Linked DNA regions of Homo sapiens: all the other regions are linked to region 3. The links are contacts of gene promoters, found by promoter capture Hi-C in human tissues and cell types (Jung and others, 2019). All regions are on one chromosome and are shown on one strand. The core of a region is centred on a gene start or on the middle of the fragment in contact, and the rest is flanking DNA. Distances in the headings are between cores, read along the strand shown.

The links. Contacts are between HindIII fragments. The study calls those that stand out against the background at their distance.
Region 1: a contact is called between a fragment that was not itself captured here and the fragment with the promoter of DLX5 in region 3, in 1 of the 25 tissues and cell types used here (H1 embryonic stem cells).
Region 2: a contact is called between a fragment that was not itself captured here and the fragment with the promoter of DLX5 in region 3, in 2 of the 25 tissues and cell types used here (H1 embryonic stem cells and heart right ventricle).

The regions. Positions count from the first base shown.
Region 1 is chr7:96,174,800-96,178,877 of GRCh38, reverse strand. All of the region lies in intron 11 of SLC25A13 (solute carrier family 25 member 13), which reads left to right. Among named protein-coding and RNA genes, the nearest start is that of MIR591, 43 kb to the left of the region's middle. The HindIII fragment of the contact is 3,366 bases long and covers 475-3,840 here.
Region 2 is chr7:96,244,289-96,248,598 of GRCh38, reverse strand. The region is part of intron 3 of SLC25A13 (solute carrier family 25 member 13); the gene reads left to right. Among named protein-coding and RNA genes, the nearest start is that of MIR591, 27 kb to the right of the region's middle. RefSeq lists an enhancer at 1-3,064. The HindIII fragment of the contact is 4,605 bases long and covers 115-4,310 here.
Region 3 is chr7:97,022,736-97,026,578 of GRCh38, reverse strand. DLX5 (distal-less homeobox 5) reads left to right here and starts at 1,748. Exons shown (of 3, transcript NM_005221.6): 1 at 1,748-2,310. The coding sequence starts at 1,956. RefSeq lists enhancers at 84-599, 1,526-2,242. The HindIII fragment of the contact is 6,057 bases long and covers 1-3,203 here.

The DNA.
Region 1 (4,078 bases), core at 908-3,407, 850 kb after region 3:
AAGGCTTTGAAAGGCGATAGTGTAGTTGGGAAGGTGGAAATGCCTCATGCCTAGGGGCAATCTGAGTCAAAAGCAGACAGACAAATGGGAGGAGGAGGAGGGAGGAAAGAATGCTTGAGCAAGTGAAGAGAGAAGGGCATGGCAACAGGAGCAGGAATAAAAAGCTCTAAGGCAGGGCACACAAAGTGCTGATAGCTGCAGAATGAAGGTTAATCTGATGTTGAAAGCAAAGGGGTTTCTCGGGGAAGATAGGGACAAGTGTTCTGGTTTCAATAGTGAGGTCAGAAGGGTAAGAATTTGACATCGGAGGGGTTGCTACCAGGTGGAAACTAGATAACACAACAGTGTGCTGGCTGTGGCTTCAGCTACAGGAATAGGGGTGTCTTCTGGATTAATTTTTCCTTCCAAAGTTTACTGCTCGTCTCTGCCCTGAATACCTTCTGCCCTCTATTAGATGCTCTCAGCTGTCTTTCTCTGGTTTGGGCTGGCCCCTGTCTCAGTTCTATGCTGAGATAGAACTGGTAACTACTGCCTTAGTTACCAAGTTTCTTCCTTGGTAGTAGCCCCTCCACCTCTGTGGTCCTGCTAGCGTTGCCCAGCGTGGTCCTTTGGCACCCTGGCCACTCTGGGTTACAGTAGCCGCTCAGCGTGGCTTCAACCCACTCCTGACCCTGCGCCTTCTTCCCAGTATATTCCTGCTCTCACTGGTTCACCAGGTTATAACCTACAGCTTGGCTCTGACATTCAGTGCCTTCGAGGTTTTAAGGAGTCTAATATTCACCATCTGTAGAGACGGGGGAAGCATGATGTGGATGCCTGCTACATGGGCACCATCCCTTTGTTGTGTACAAGGGTCAGGCAGGGCAGGGTGCTGACCCAGCCTGAGCTGAGGCCTAGAGAAAAGTTTCAGAACAGTCTAGTTGGGAAGAAATGCCTTTCCAGGGCAGAGGAGGAACTTGGAGCAGTAAGTCTGTTAGAGAAAACTGGTACCGCAGAGAATTAAGGAGCACAGAGCCCTGATTTGAGAGTACTGGCAGGCCTGAATTCAACTTTGAGTGCTACTACATAGTCGCTCAGAAGTTAGTGACTTGAAACAAGCTGCTTAGCCTGTCTGGATTCCAGTTTCCATGAAGGAGGAGGAGGAAGAATAAGTGATAGTGATGATGAAGATCAACAACAACAACAAAAATCCATTTCTGTAGTCTTTACTGTCTGTACTTGGTACTGGTCTGAGGATTTTGTGAGTGTTAACTCATTTCATCTTCACGACTACCCCGTGAAAATGGCATCATGATTATTCCCATTCTACAGATGTGGAAACTAAGATACAAAGAGATTAGGTAACTTGTCCACAATTACACAGCTAACAAATAGCAAAGTCAGAATTGAAGCTCAGCAGCCTGGCTCCAGACCTCGTGTTCCTAATCACTTGGCTCTTTTGTCACCTGGTAGAAATTACATTGTGAAAAGTTGCTTGTCAGCAGAGGTTAAGGATCATTTAAGTTTTTAACTATAATATTTTATTTCAGCTTAATAACATAGTTGAAATGTGTTGTTTTGTCTGTGCCACTACTTTACCTTGCCCAAAGTATACAGGGCCCCTGGACACTTCCAGACCACATGTGCTCTCACTGCTTGGGGACAGCTGTTCTAAGATAGGCATAATGTCATGGGCACAGCATGATACTCCTTAGCTAATGGTGGACTGTGAACATGATTCAGGCTGAATTGCCTCTTGCAAACAAAAGAAATCAAGGCTATGTATTGAAAAGATAGGTAGAAAGAAGCATTATGTCTTTTGGAATACATAACATATGAGGTAAATAGTGTCTGGTTCTTTGTACACTTATTCATATAATTATCAAAATAAACCAATAGATAGTAAGTAGCACCCTTGTTTTGCCAAGAGGGAACCTAGAATTCAAAGAATTACTACCCAAGATCACTCAGTGTGAAAGATGCACAGACCTAGCATTCTAGCCCAGGTCTGTCCACCTCCAAAGCCCATGCCCTAGATTGTTCATTTTGCTGCCAGCCCGTTGGAAATAGCCTAAAATTAGTTTAAATTAGGCCAGCAATATTGAGTTTCTTTCATAATCCCTTCCAACCCTGAAATTCCAGTTATATTTCTAACAGGTTCTTAAGAATAGCATGCTAGCCCTCTAGTTGAACACAGTGGGCCCAGGAACCTCTTTTGGGGATGTCCTGTGAAGCTTGAGTTGGAGACCCCTGATCTGGGCTTGGTCCCCACACCTTCAGCTCCTTGGTTTGCGCAAGGGACTGAATTCAGAGGGGATAGTGTGATTTATATCTCCAACCCATGAAATGTGAAGACAAAATACTACATTAATACTGTACCCTGTAAATCTTTTCTCGCATTAGCAGCCTTCTGGTAGAGTCGAGTTGCCAAGGAAGCATTGCCATATGTGCTGATGGAGCTGAACTAAAAGGAGAAGATTGGAAAACTAACCACACTAATAAATTTCTTTTGAGGCAGTTGGAAAATGGACTGCTGTTTTGACAAGTTAGAAACAACACACACATCCATTCTCTGTTTCAAATGGTTAAAGTGAATTTCCAGGACCCAACAGAAACATCTTATATTAGAAACCTGATTTTTCTGCTGAATTACCCAGATGTCAGATATATATGCACTTTAGACTTAATTGTGGTTGTGATGAAGTGCCTCACCTAGACTCTCTGCTTTAGGCATTACTGGGCTGTGCTACCTCTCCTCCCTCTGAGGTCAAGGTACAAGGAGGGAGTTTGGAATTCCCACCTCTTTGACTTTTCATTGTTTCACAGATCATGACCTTCTTACAAAGACCATTTACCCAAGACTCATGTTTTCAAGGCCCACATCTGTAGTGGGCCTCAGATTATAATCCAGTCACCTTCATTTTCCTGTTTAACCAGACAAGGTAGTCACTACAAGAATGGTTCTTATCAACAACTTCCGTGAGTGGCAGCATCTGGCCTAGGTCTTAGGAATGGATTTGTGCTTTGGTTTTATTCTAAGTTGAAGTTAATCATTTAATATAAGGAAGCTCGGGGCCTCTAATATATTACCTTAAACTCCTAGTTTCTCTAGCTTCCTCAGGTCTCTGCTCTTGCAAACTATCCTTCACCTGCCTCTAGAACTTTTTACTTTTTGAACTTTACTTTTTACCCTAAAAGCCACCCCATGCATCTACAGAATTTGGTGCATGCTCCTTAGTGGGCCTGGGAGAGAAGTTGTGCAGCGTACCAGGTAAGAGCACAGGCTGGAGTCGGACAGCCTGGGTGGAACCCCGTTCCCCCATCAAACAGCTGAGCCACCATGGGCAGCTCCCTTAAAGTCGGCCTCAGTTTCTTCTTCAGTTGCTGTGGATAAAACAAAAGCCACTGTTTAAGTAAGGTATTGTGTGGATTAAATGTGTTCATTCACATAAAACACACAGTACTGTAGTATGTGGATATAGCGAGTGCTCCCCAAATATTGGCTGTTGTCATTATCACTACTATTAATAATATTGTTATTTATTATCTGGTCTTCTGTGATCCAAGCACAGCCTCCAGTGCCCTGACTCCATGCCATAGCCTTAAGATGTTGGTGCCTTTGCACACCAACTGTTTCCTCTGCCTGGGTCACCTTGCCCTCCATTCTGCTCATTGTCTCATCTTTCCGGGGAACCTCTGCTCACCCTTGAAGTCCCAGGGCAAATATCTCCTCTTCTTTGATGTTTTTTCCCCTCCTGCAGGCAGAAGAACTGGTTCTCTCCACTGGGTTCTCATAGTCCTGTGATGCCCCTGGGGTCTGGTATGCAGCACCTGCTGTTGTTAGGTGGTTTGTCCCCCATCTGGCAGGTGGAGACAACTAGCGTTCCCTTTCCCTCTAAACTCTGAGCTTCTTAGCGGGGAGGCACCAGTCTCACTGTGTTCATCCCAGTTCCTCTCAGTACCAGGCAGACAGAGAAGGCATTTGGTAAATGTTTGCTGAACAAATAGCTACTTGTTGCCTTCTTTGTAGTCTTAAATACGGGGTTTTCCCTTCTGTTTTTTGCCGTTCACAATGCATTACTAAATTTATGGTGAGAAG
Region 2 (4,310 bases), core at 1,168-3,667, 780 kb after region 3:
AGTGGAGGTAGGAGCATGGTACCTAAGTCCAAGTTGCACCATTTTGTGTGGCTGTTTCTTTCTTATTTTGCATTAGGAAACAGGTGCAAGAAAAAGAAAAAAAATTCCACTTCATCATCGTAGTAGTATCTGGAATCTCATTCCCCATAACCAAGAAGAACTCATTTATTCTTGGCCACCCTCTCTCTTTTGTTATTCTAAGTTGACTGTGGACAGCTTTGATGCTGCCCCTGAACTTCTATGAGTCCCCCTGCCCTTGCTGCCAGGATTTTAGAATCTACCCTTCTCCTATACTAGGAGTGGTAAGAAAATAAATTCGGGTAGTAGTGCCATTTGATGATTCATTTTCTTTTTATATGTGTCCTTTAAAATTAACATTGACAATTTGGAGCCCCTTTGTAATGTGGATGATAGAGGAAAAGCTGTGATTGCTTATAGGCTGAATTTAGGTTCATCTGAAATTATGATGTATCTCAGAAACATCATAATTCCTTGGTTTGGGAGTGGTAATAGGATTAGGACTGTTGAGACTGTAGAAAAAGCACATTGTTTTTCTTAGATGTGGATGCTTGTTTGGGGTGGTGTAGGCTGATGGAGAGTATTTGAGACAGCGGCTACTCTTTCTTTTTTTTTTTTTTTTCCCAGCTGCTACTCTCAATGCAGACATTGCTCTAGAACACCCTGTATAAACTATATATTGCCACATCTAAACCATATAGTACTTCATTAAATTTTGAACATTTAAAATATTTTAACTATATGAGACAACTATGTGGTGCATGTGTTAATTAGCTTGATTGTGATAATCATTTTTCAATGTATATGTATATAAAAATAACACATTGTACACTTTAAATGTATACAATTTTTGTCAATTATATGTCAATAAAGCTGTAAAAAAATTTTAGATAATGCACAATGGATCCCATACTTTGTATTTATTCCTATATACCTTGATTTTTAAGCACCTTATTCTTTAAGTTCATTTTGTTGCCGAATTTGAGTGCATTCTCCCTAGTCCTTATTAAAGAGGGTACAATAATCTTTCATCTGAGATACAATTGATGGAATTATTTTATAGGATCGAGTACATTTTAAAGCCTAATCTTTCTTTGCTTACATTGAATATTATGACCATAATATTATGAAATGTTATTCTGAAACTTGGTCTGAGTTCTCTTACGTCATCAGAAATTTCTGCAAATTCAATCTGAAATCAACACATGGGCACTTTTTTTTTCTTTTTTATGGTCTTAAATACAGAAAATCATAATCTATTTTAAGCTTAGATAAATGATGGAACACTTGTTTACATGGGTAAAATGACTCTATCTAAGTAGTATATTGAAGTTCATGTTAATGTTTGCTATTTAATGACACCTAATGATATTCAGTGAAGGGTTATGCTAAACCGGAGAGAAAATGTGTTACCCAGGCAACTGCCTCTGGCAGACTAGAGATTCGGGCATATGGCTCTATAGTACACATTATTTCAGCATCTTTAAGCATAAAGAACCACACATGTAATTGACTGTGAAAAATTACTGCTCAGTTACTGTATTGTATGGTCATAATAGAAGTAAATGAATACGTCATTGTTGTTGGAACAAGTCTGTTGGGAATCACTTGTAGACTCTACTATTTAAGAAGCAAAAATACAATAAGAAGAAAATAGCTGGTTTAATTAACATGTAAAAATTGGGTTAATTTGAATTCAGCTGGCACAGCAGATATTAATGTTGGCTTTTTTTTGTGATATTCTGGCTCAAGCCTGGGTATTTTTATTTCTTCTTGCCCACACCATGAATAATTTTATTTCTTAAAATGATAAGGGCTATTTCAGTCATTTAATTTTTGCTTTGCCAGGGACTTTTATTACAGTCACATCAAGAGAGGTTTTGTGTGTATCCAAAATGTAGGAATTACAGTTGAATGAAAGAAAATGCCAAAATGTTCCCGAGTAATTGATAATGTTTCTCAAAGAGGAATCAGTATAATTTTGATTTCATGTATTTTTTAAAAATTTTAGTTTACTGCTGATGTATTTTTATTTTTTTAACAGTGACAAACTAGGAATTGATCAACGGCAGATGCAAGAAAATAGCATGTTCTTGTCACTTTTTGTGTGCCTATGCTTATGTGCCTTTTGTTCGTTTTAGAATATTGTTTTAATCATCATTACCTTGCTTCAGAGATTCAGAAAAACCTATTGAGAAAGGCATTGTGTTCCAATTAAAAAATCGTTTAGCTCAATCAATTTTTGGTATTTTAAAATGTTATTTGAGCTGAGAACAAACATAGGTAATATGGGCATTAACTAAAAGTATGTATGGGAACATTCTGTTCCTTGGGCTGTGCCTTCGGTACCCTGTAGGTACTTTTGTGCTTTTCAGCCCTAAATCAAGGGAATGATCAAACTGGAGACTATGGTTAGAGAAGTGAAGGATTTGGCAGTGTGTGCCCTTGCATGCAGGCCAGTCTTTCTGTCCTTGGGTGCATTCAAAGTACCTGGTTATCCAGTGGTAATGAGAATAAACCAACATGCTGCTTTATATAGTGTAGGCCAGTATACGCTGACAAATTCATATGCCTGCTGGCTTTTCAGTTACTGATTTCTTATTTGTGGTTTCCCCACTATCCTTCTTCATTTGCCATTTTAATAACATTGAGACCTTTTTATCCAGCCTTAATTAGTAGAACAAAGAAAGATTTAGGAAACCTAGGTTTTTAAATCTGCTTTATTTGCCTTAATCAGTTTTCCATCATGGTTTACAATTACTTTTCCCTTTTTTCCTCAATGGTCTTTCTTTACCTCTTTTGATTTCCTCCTGCTTTGAAGGCAATACGTAATTTAAAATGAGGTATTTATGGTGTTTTTTGTTTGTTTAAACTTAGTAGACTTTTCCTTTAAAAAGAAGTCTTTGGTAGATCTCAAAATATCCATGATGTAATTAAAATGCAGACTATTTGTCATGCACATTATTAAATTCTGCTCTCAGTGTTGGTAATTATACAAAATAGGAACAATGTAGTATAATAAGATAGCTTTTCGGGGTTTTTAAATGATGTCTACTAGTATTTAAGAAATAAAGGATATTTATCTAAAGAATTGTGGAGATGGTGAATATGATTTGTCTCTAGTTTTAAAAGCTTGTAGGCTTGTAGTGGTTCTTTTCCTTGATGTAGAATCATCTTTGTAGGGATTGGCCGTGATCGGAGCATTTTTGTGACTTGAAGGTTAAAAGAGAGGTTGAGGGAGGTGGCAAGGACACTGGGGCAGATTCTCCTCATCTCATTGAGTAATGGTTATTTTACAGGGAGGGAAAGAATAAATGGGGTATAGGAAGAGTAAAGACATTTTCTAGTGTTACTTGAATTAACTACGTACTAGCAAGTGAGAACTAGAAAAGGGATGAATCATACCTGTCAAATGTGCTTGATCCATCTTATAAGAAAGAGAATGTTGGAGGTATAAGAATACCCCAGTAAATCCCCCTGGTTGGCACAGTCAGCCTTGGGCAACTTGACTGCTGTTTGGAGTCAGCTGCAAGGCGATGGGCTGCCAAGTAGAGCTGGCAGTATGGACAGATCACTTACTGAGTTAAGCTCACAATTACGAGAGCCTATATATATATATATATACTTTTGCCAATATGGAGGCAGTGATATATGCAGAGGTGATATTTATAGGCCAAATTTGTGATAACGATACAGTAAAATTGCCAATAAAAATCTTTAATAGGTTTTTAAAGCCAGGCAGTAGCCTGCTTGTTTGAACAATATTCAATCTGCCAGATTTCACTGGAGCCAATGAATTTAAATAGGCCCTTGGCAAACACTGCAGCGAGATTTGAACCAGAGTACATAGTAGAGCTGAAGAGCCCTGCTGGCCTCAGAACACATGCACTCCAGGGAATGCCAAGGTCCTTTCTGGAGCCAGGGTGGGCACAGAATGGCTGCCTGTAACCTAAAATGGAAGAAAACAGGATTTTAGAATGAAAGGCATCCGAGAAAAGCACCTTTTATGGAACAAGAAAGGATATCTGTTCCAACTTGTCCAACAAGGTCATTCAGCCAGTTAGGCAAAGGTAAGACCCTATAGGACTCAGCTTCTGTCCACCTTATTCCTGATGGTTTTTAGAAGATTGGGTAATCACTCATTGTCTCTTTTCAGATCAGATTAGAAACAATAGTCATGAATTTGCATAATTGGAGTCGTGAGTCTTCGTTTGTGTGCTTGCTGACCATCAACTAACATATTAAATAAAAATCTTTACTTAGGAGCATCCTCTTCATCTGCCTAACTGGTA
Region 3 (3,843 bases), core at 499-2,998:
CGCGGCAGCCCAGGCCCAAAGCTCGTGACTCGGGCCAGTGGGAGAAGGAGAATGCTGCTGGGCGCCAGTCTCCCGGTGCTGAAGTTTCCCCCGAAAGGAAGTGCGACAATAGCTGTGTTTTTCTGGTGCAGTCCAGACCGCAAAGGCAGGGAGTTGGTGCACGCACGGCAGCTCTGCTTTGGAGTTCCTGAGCGGGGCTGTATCTTGCTCTGAGTTCCAGACACCCTACCTCTACCCGTCGGCCTGTTTTAGGCCGAGTGGCTCCACACTCCAAGTAAGGCTAAACTAATACTAGACACAACTAACACAGACGCTTTCTTCTTCGGTAGGAGGGAAAACGGAGGGGAGGCCAGATAACCCTAGATAGCCTGTGGAACTCCCAGATTGCCGGTCTTGGACCCCGTAAAGGAAGATGTAGGAAGGCCCCAAATCAGGATCTAGTCCGCGGAGTTGCCTATTTGAGGGGAGTAACAATGGGGATTGGGAGAGACTTTTATGCTGAATTTCTAAACTCCCAGCTGAATCACGACTAGAACAAGGATAGCACCTCCTGAAGAGCAAAGTTTAGATCTCGTGTATCAACTGAATGATTCTTGAATCCTTTCTTCCCTTGCATACGAGCTAAGTAGGATGTCTTTGCAGCAGGAAATAAAGGGGAGAGGGTACAGAAACCCGGGTCTGGGAAATGGAGAGACTGGGCCACATTCATGGAGCCAGGAGGGGGAAATCAATGAGCATCATCTGACTTTGCAAAGGCTTTGATCCTTGTCTCCTTCCCCACTTCCGAGACTTTCCCATTCTTTCCTGGAGGTATGGCAGGTTATACATGGATCCATTCACCTTTGCGGGAGTCTTTGGCCACTGAACATAGTTAAAGAGCCTTTATTCCAATGTCTTGAAAATAGATGAAAATATTAAACAGAAGTGGAGCTGTTTGGCTCTTTTTGCAAGCCAGCAACGAGGATTTGGGCTTCCTTAAGTTATATGTGTTTAAGACAGTAATTTTTAAAAGTCATTATAAGGACTTTGGGCTGCAGGAACTCTCCCTGCCATTCACCGGCTTAATGGACATTGTGCCTTCTTGGGCATTCCTGTCCAGCCCGCGTCCGGGAGATACTCATCTCCTGCAAAGGAAGTTGCCTCTTTCCCCAAAGAGCAAATTTTCAAAACATGTAAGTTACAACTTGCTTCCCAACACTCCACTAAAAAAAAAAAAAATGCTGTTTCCCTTCCTTCTTGCCTCCATCCTACATCCCCCCGCTCCCCACTCCCTGCACCTTGACTCCCTATTTCAGTATCAGTGTTTAATTCTACACTCGCCTTTGGTGCAGCCCACGGGGGCGGGGTAGTGGGAAGCAAGGAAAGATGGTCGCCCACCTCATTCCCAAAACATGTGCACTTTTGAGGCTTCTGATTGGAACACATTGTCCCCAGACATCACAGAGCCTTGTGCTGTGGCTTCTGCGATGTCTTTGGAATTTACTAAAAACAGATAGACTAAGACCCCTCCCCACTCCACAACAAGCAAAAACACACACAAGCGCGCGGGCGCGCACACACACAAACACACACACCCCCTCAGTACCCCCCACCCCCTTTTTAAGCAATGCTTTGTTGTGCTAAAACTAGTTGGACGAGTTAGGGTGTTACTGTTGCTCCCGAGGCCCTGGCCAATAGAACCAGATCCACCCCGCTGTGCGTAAGCGCGCAATTAAGGATTTAACCAAGGCTGTGCTGCGCCTCAGCCAGCAGTCAGCCGGCCGGAGACAGAGACTTCACGACTCCCAGTCTCCTCCTCGCCGCGGCCGCCGCCTCCTCCTTCTCTCCTCCTCCTCTTCCTCCTCCTCCCTCGCTCCCACAGCCATGTCTGCTTAGACCAGAGCAGCCCCACAGCCAACTAGGGCAGCTGCCGCCGCCACAACAGCAAGGACAGCCGCTGCCGCCGCCCGTGAGCGATGACAGGAGTGTTTGACAGAAGGGTCCCCAGCATCCGATCCGGCGACTTCCAAGCTCCGTTCCAGACGTCCGCAGCTATGCACCATCCGTCTCAGGAATCGCCAACTTTGCCCGAGTCTTCAGCTACCGATTCTGACTACTACAGCCCTACGGGGGGAGCCCCGCACGGCTACTGCTCTCCTACCTCGGCTTCCTATGGCAAAGCTCTCAACCCCTACCAGTATCAGTATCACGGCGTGAACGGCTCCGCCGGGAGCTACCCAGCCAAAGCTTATGCCGACTATAGCTACGCTAGCTCCTACCACCAGTACGGCGGCGCCTACAACCGCGTCCCAAGCGCCACCAACCAGCCAGGTACATGGACAGGGGGAAGGCTGGGCAGATACAGGGCGACTAGGACGCTGGGGGCGCGAGATGGGGTGGTAGATTGGGGGTCACAGCGGTTCACGGCAGTGGGGGCGCACGCGGCAGAAGGGAGTAGGACTCAGACCCTCCAACAAAGAGAGTTTCTCGGGCCAGCATTTTAGGGATTTTTAGTAGGAGAGCCCTGTGGAGGTTCGAACTAGCGTCTCTCCCCTCCGGCACCTTCCAAGGCCCTTCAGTCGCTGAATTCCCAGCTTGCCCGGCCAGGAAGCCGGCTAGGCTGGAAAGGGGATAGGGGTGGAGAGAAGAAAGAATCAAGCAGCTCCTGGCGTTTGCGTAACAAAGAGAAGGTTACTTGGGAATTTTGGTAAGCGTGCTGGGTTGGTGCGAGTGGGAATAGAAGGCTGCCTCAAAAACTCAGTCAGGATTAGTTTGAGAGCCGCCACAAGCTAGCACGGTGCGGGTGCCCTGAGCACGCTGGGTGGGGGTGGGGGGGTTAAGGAGTTGTAGCCAGCCAGAGAAGAGCGCGCCGAGAGTTTTGCGGTTTATCCAGGCATTTCCAAAAACAAAAAGCCATTTAAAGGTGGAGGAGGGTTGCTGAGGGGTCACGTTGTAGGATAGATTTTTTTTTCTGTCTCCATAGGCGCCCACAATTTGTCTTTCCGTCCTCCTTTTTCGTCCGCTTTGAAACTTACTTAGAGAGTTTAAGAGGGTTAGTGAGCTTGGGCGGTAAGAGAAAGGCATGAGGCTCGGCGGAGAGGTTTTATTGGTAAGGTTTGATCTCTTCCCACCAGCACATTAATAATCCTGCTAATATTAGCATCCCCTACTCTGGCAGAATTGAGACCACAGCCCTCATCCTCCACACTTCTCCCTGGAACTTGACACACACACACACACACACACACACACACACACACACCCTGGAGAGGTTCTCCGTCAGTTCCAGAGGGGTGGTAGTTTTGAGGAAGGGGAGTTGTAGCCCCAGGGCAGGTTTGTACAACACGCGTTTGGCAATCCCTCCCCCTCCCGCCCAAACCCATACTCATGACAGTGAGAATCTCATCCTGACCTGCCGCCCCTTTCCTACGAAAACACCCCACCACCGGTTCCTTCTCAGTGTGTGACTCTTGCTGAACTTTAAAAGAGAGCCCCGGGTTGAGGTGTCTACGTTTCTTTCACTCTCTCTGTATTCCGTGCATAAGTGGAAGATTTCTTTTTTTTTTTTTTTTTTTTGCCAAGAACATATTAAGTCTATTTGTAAAAGAAACCAGACACATCTGTGCCCTCGCAGATCTGCAGCGAGATTATGGGGGTTGCATAATCGACCCTCTGTCTGCGGCGGCCCCGACCGCTTGCTGCTGAAGTGAAGGAGCAGTTTGCTTGTGGGTCTTTGAACTTTGGAGACCTCGGTTAGCGTCTTCCCTGCCCAAGAGTCTGGCTTCTGCGGGCGCCCGAACAGACGCCGACAGAAGTAGGGTCACGGCCCAGGGCCACCTCCTTGAAGCCTGGGGAGGGGCTGGT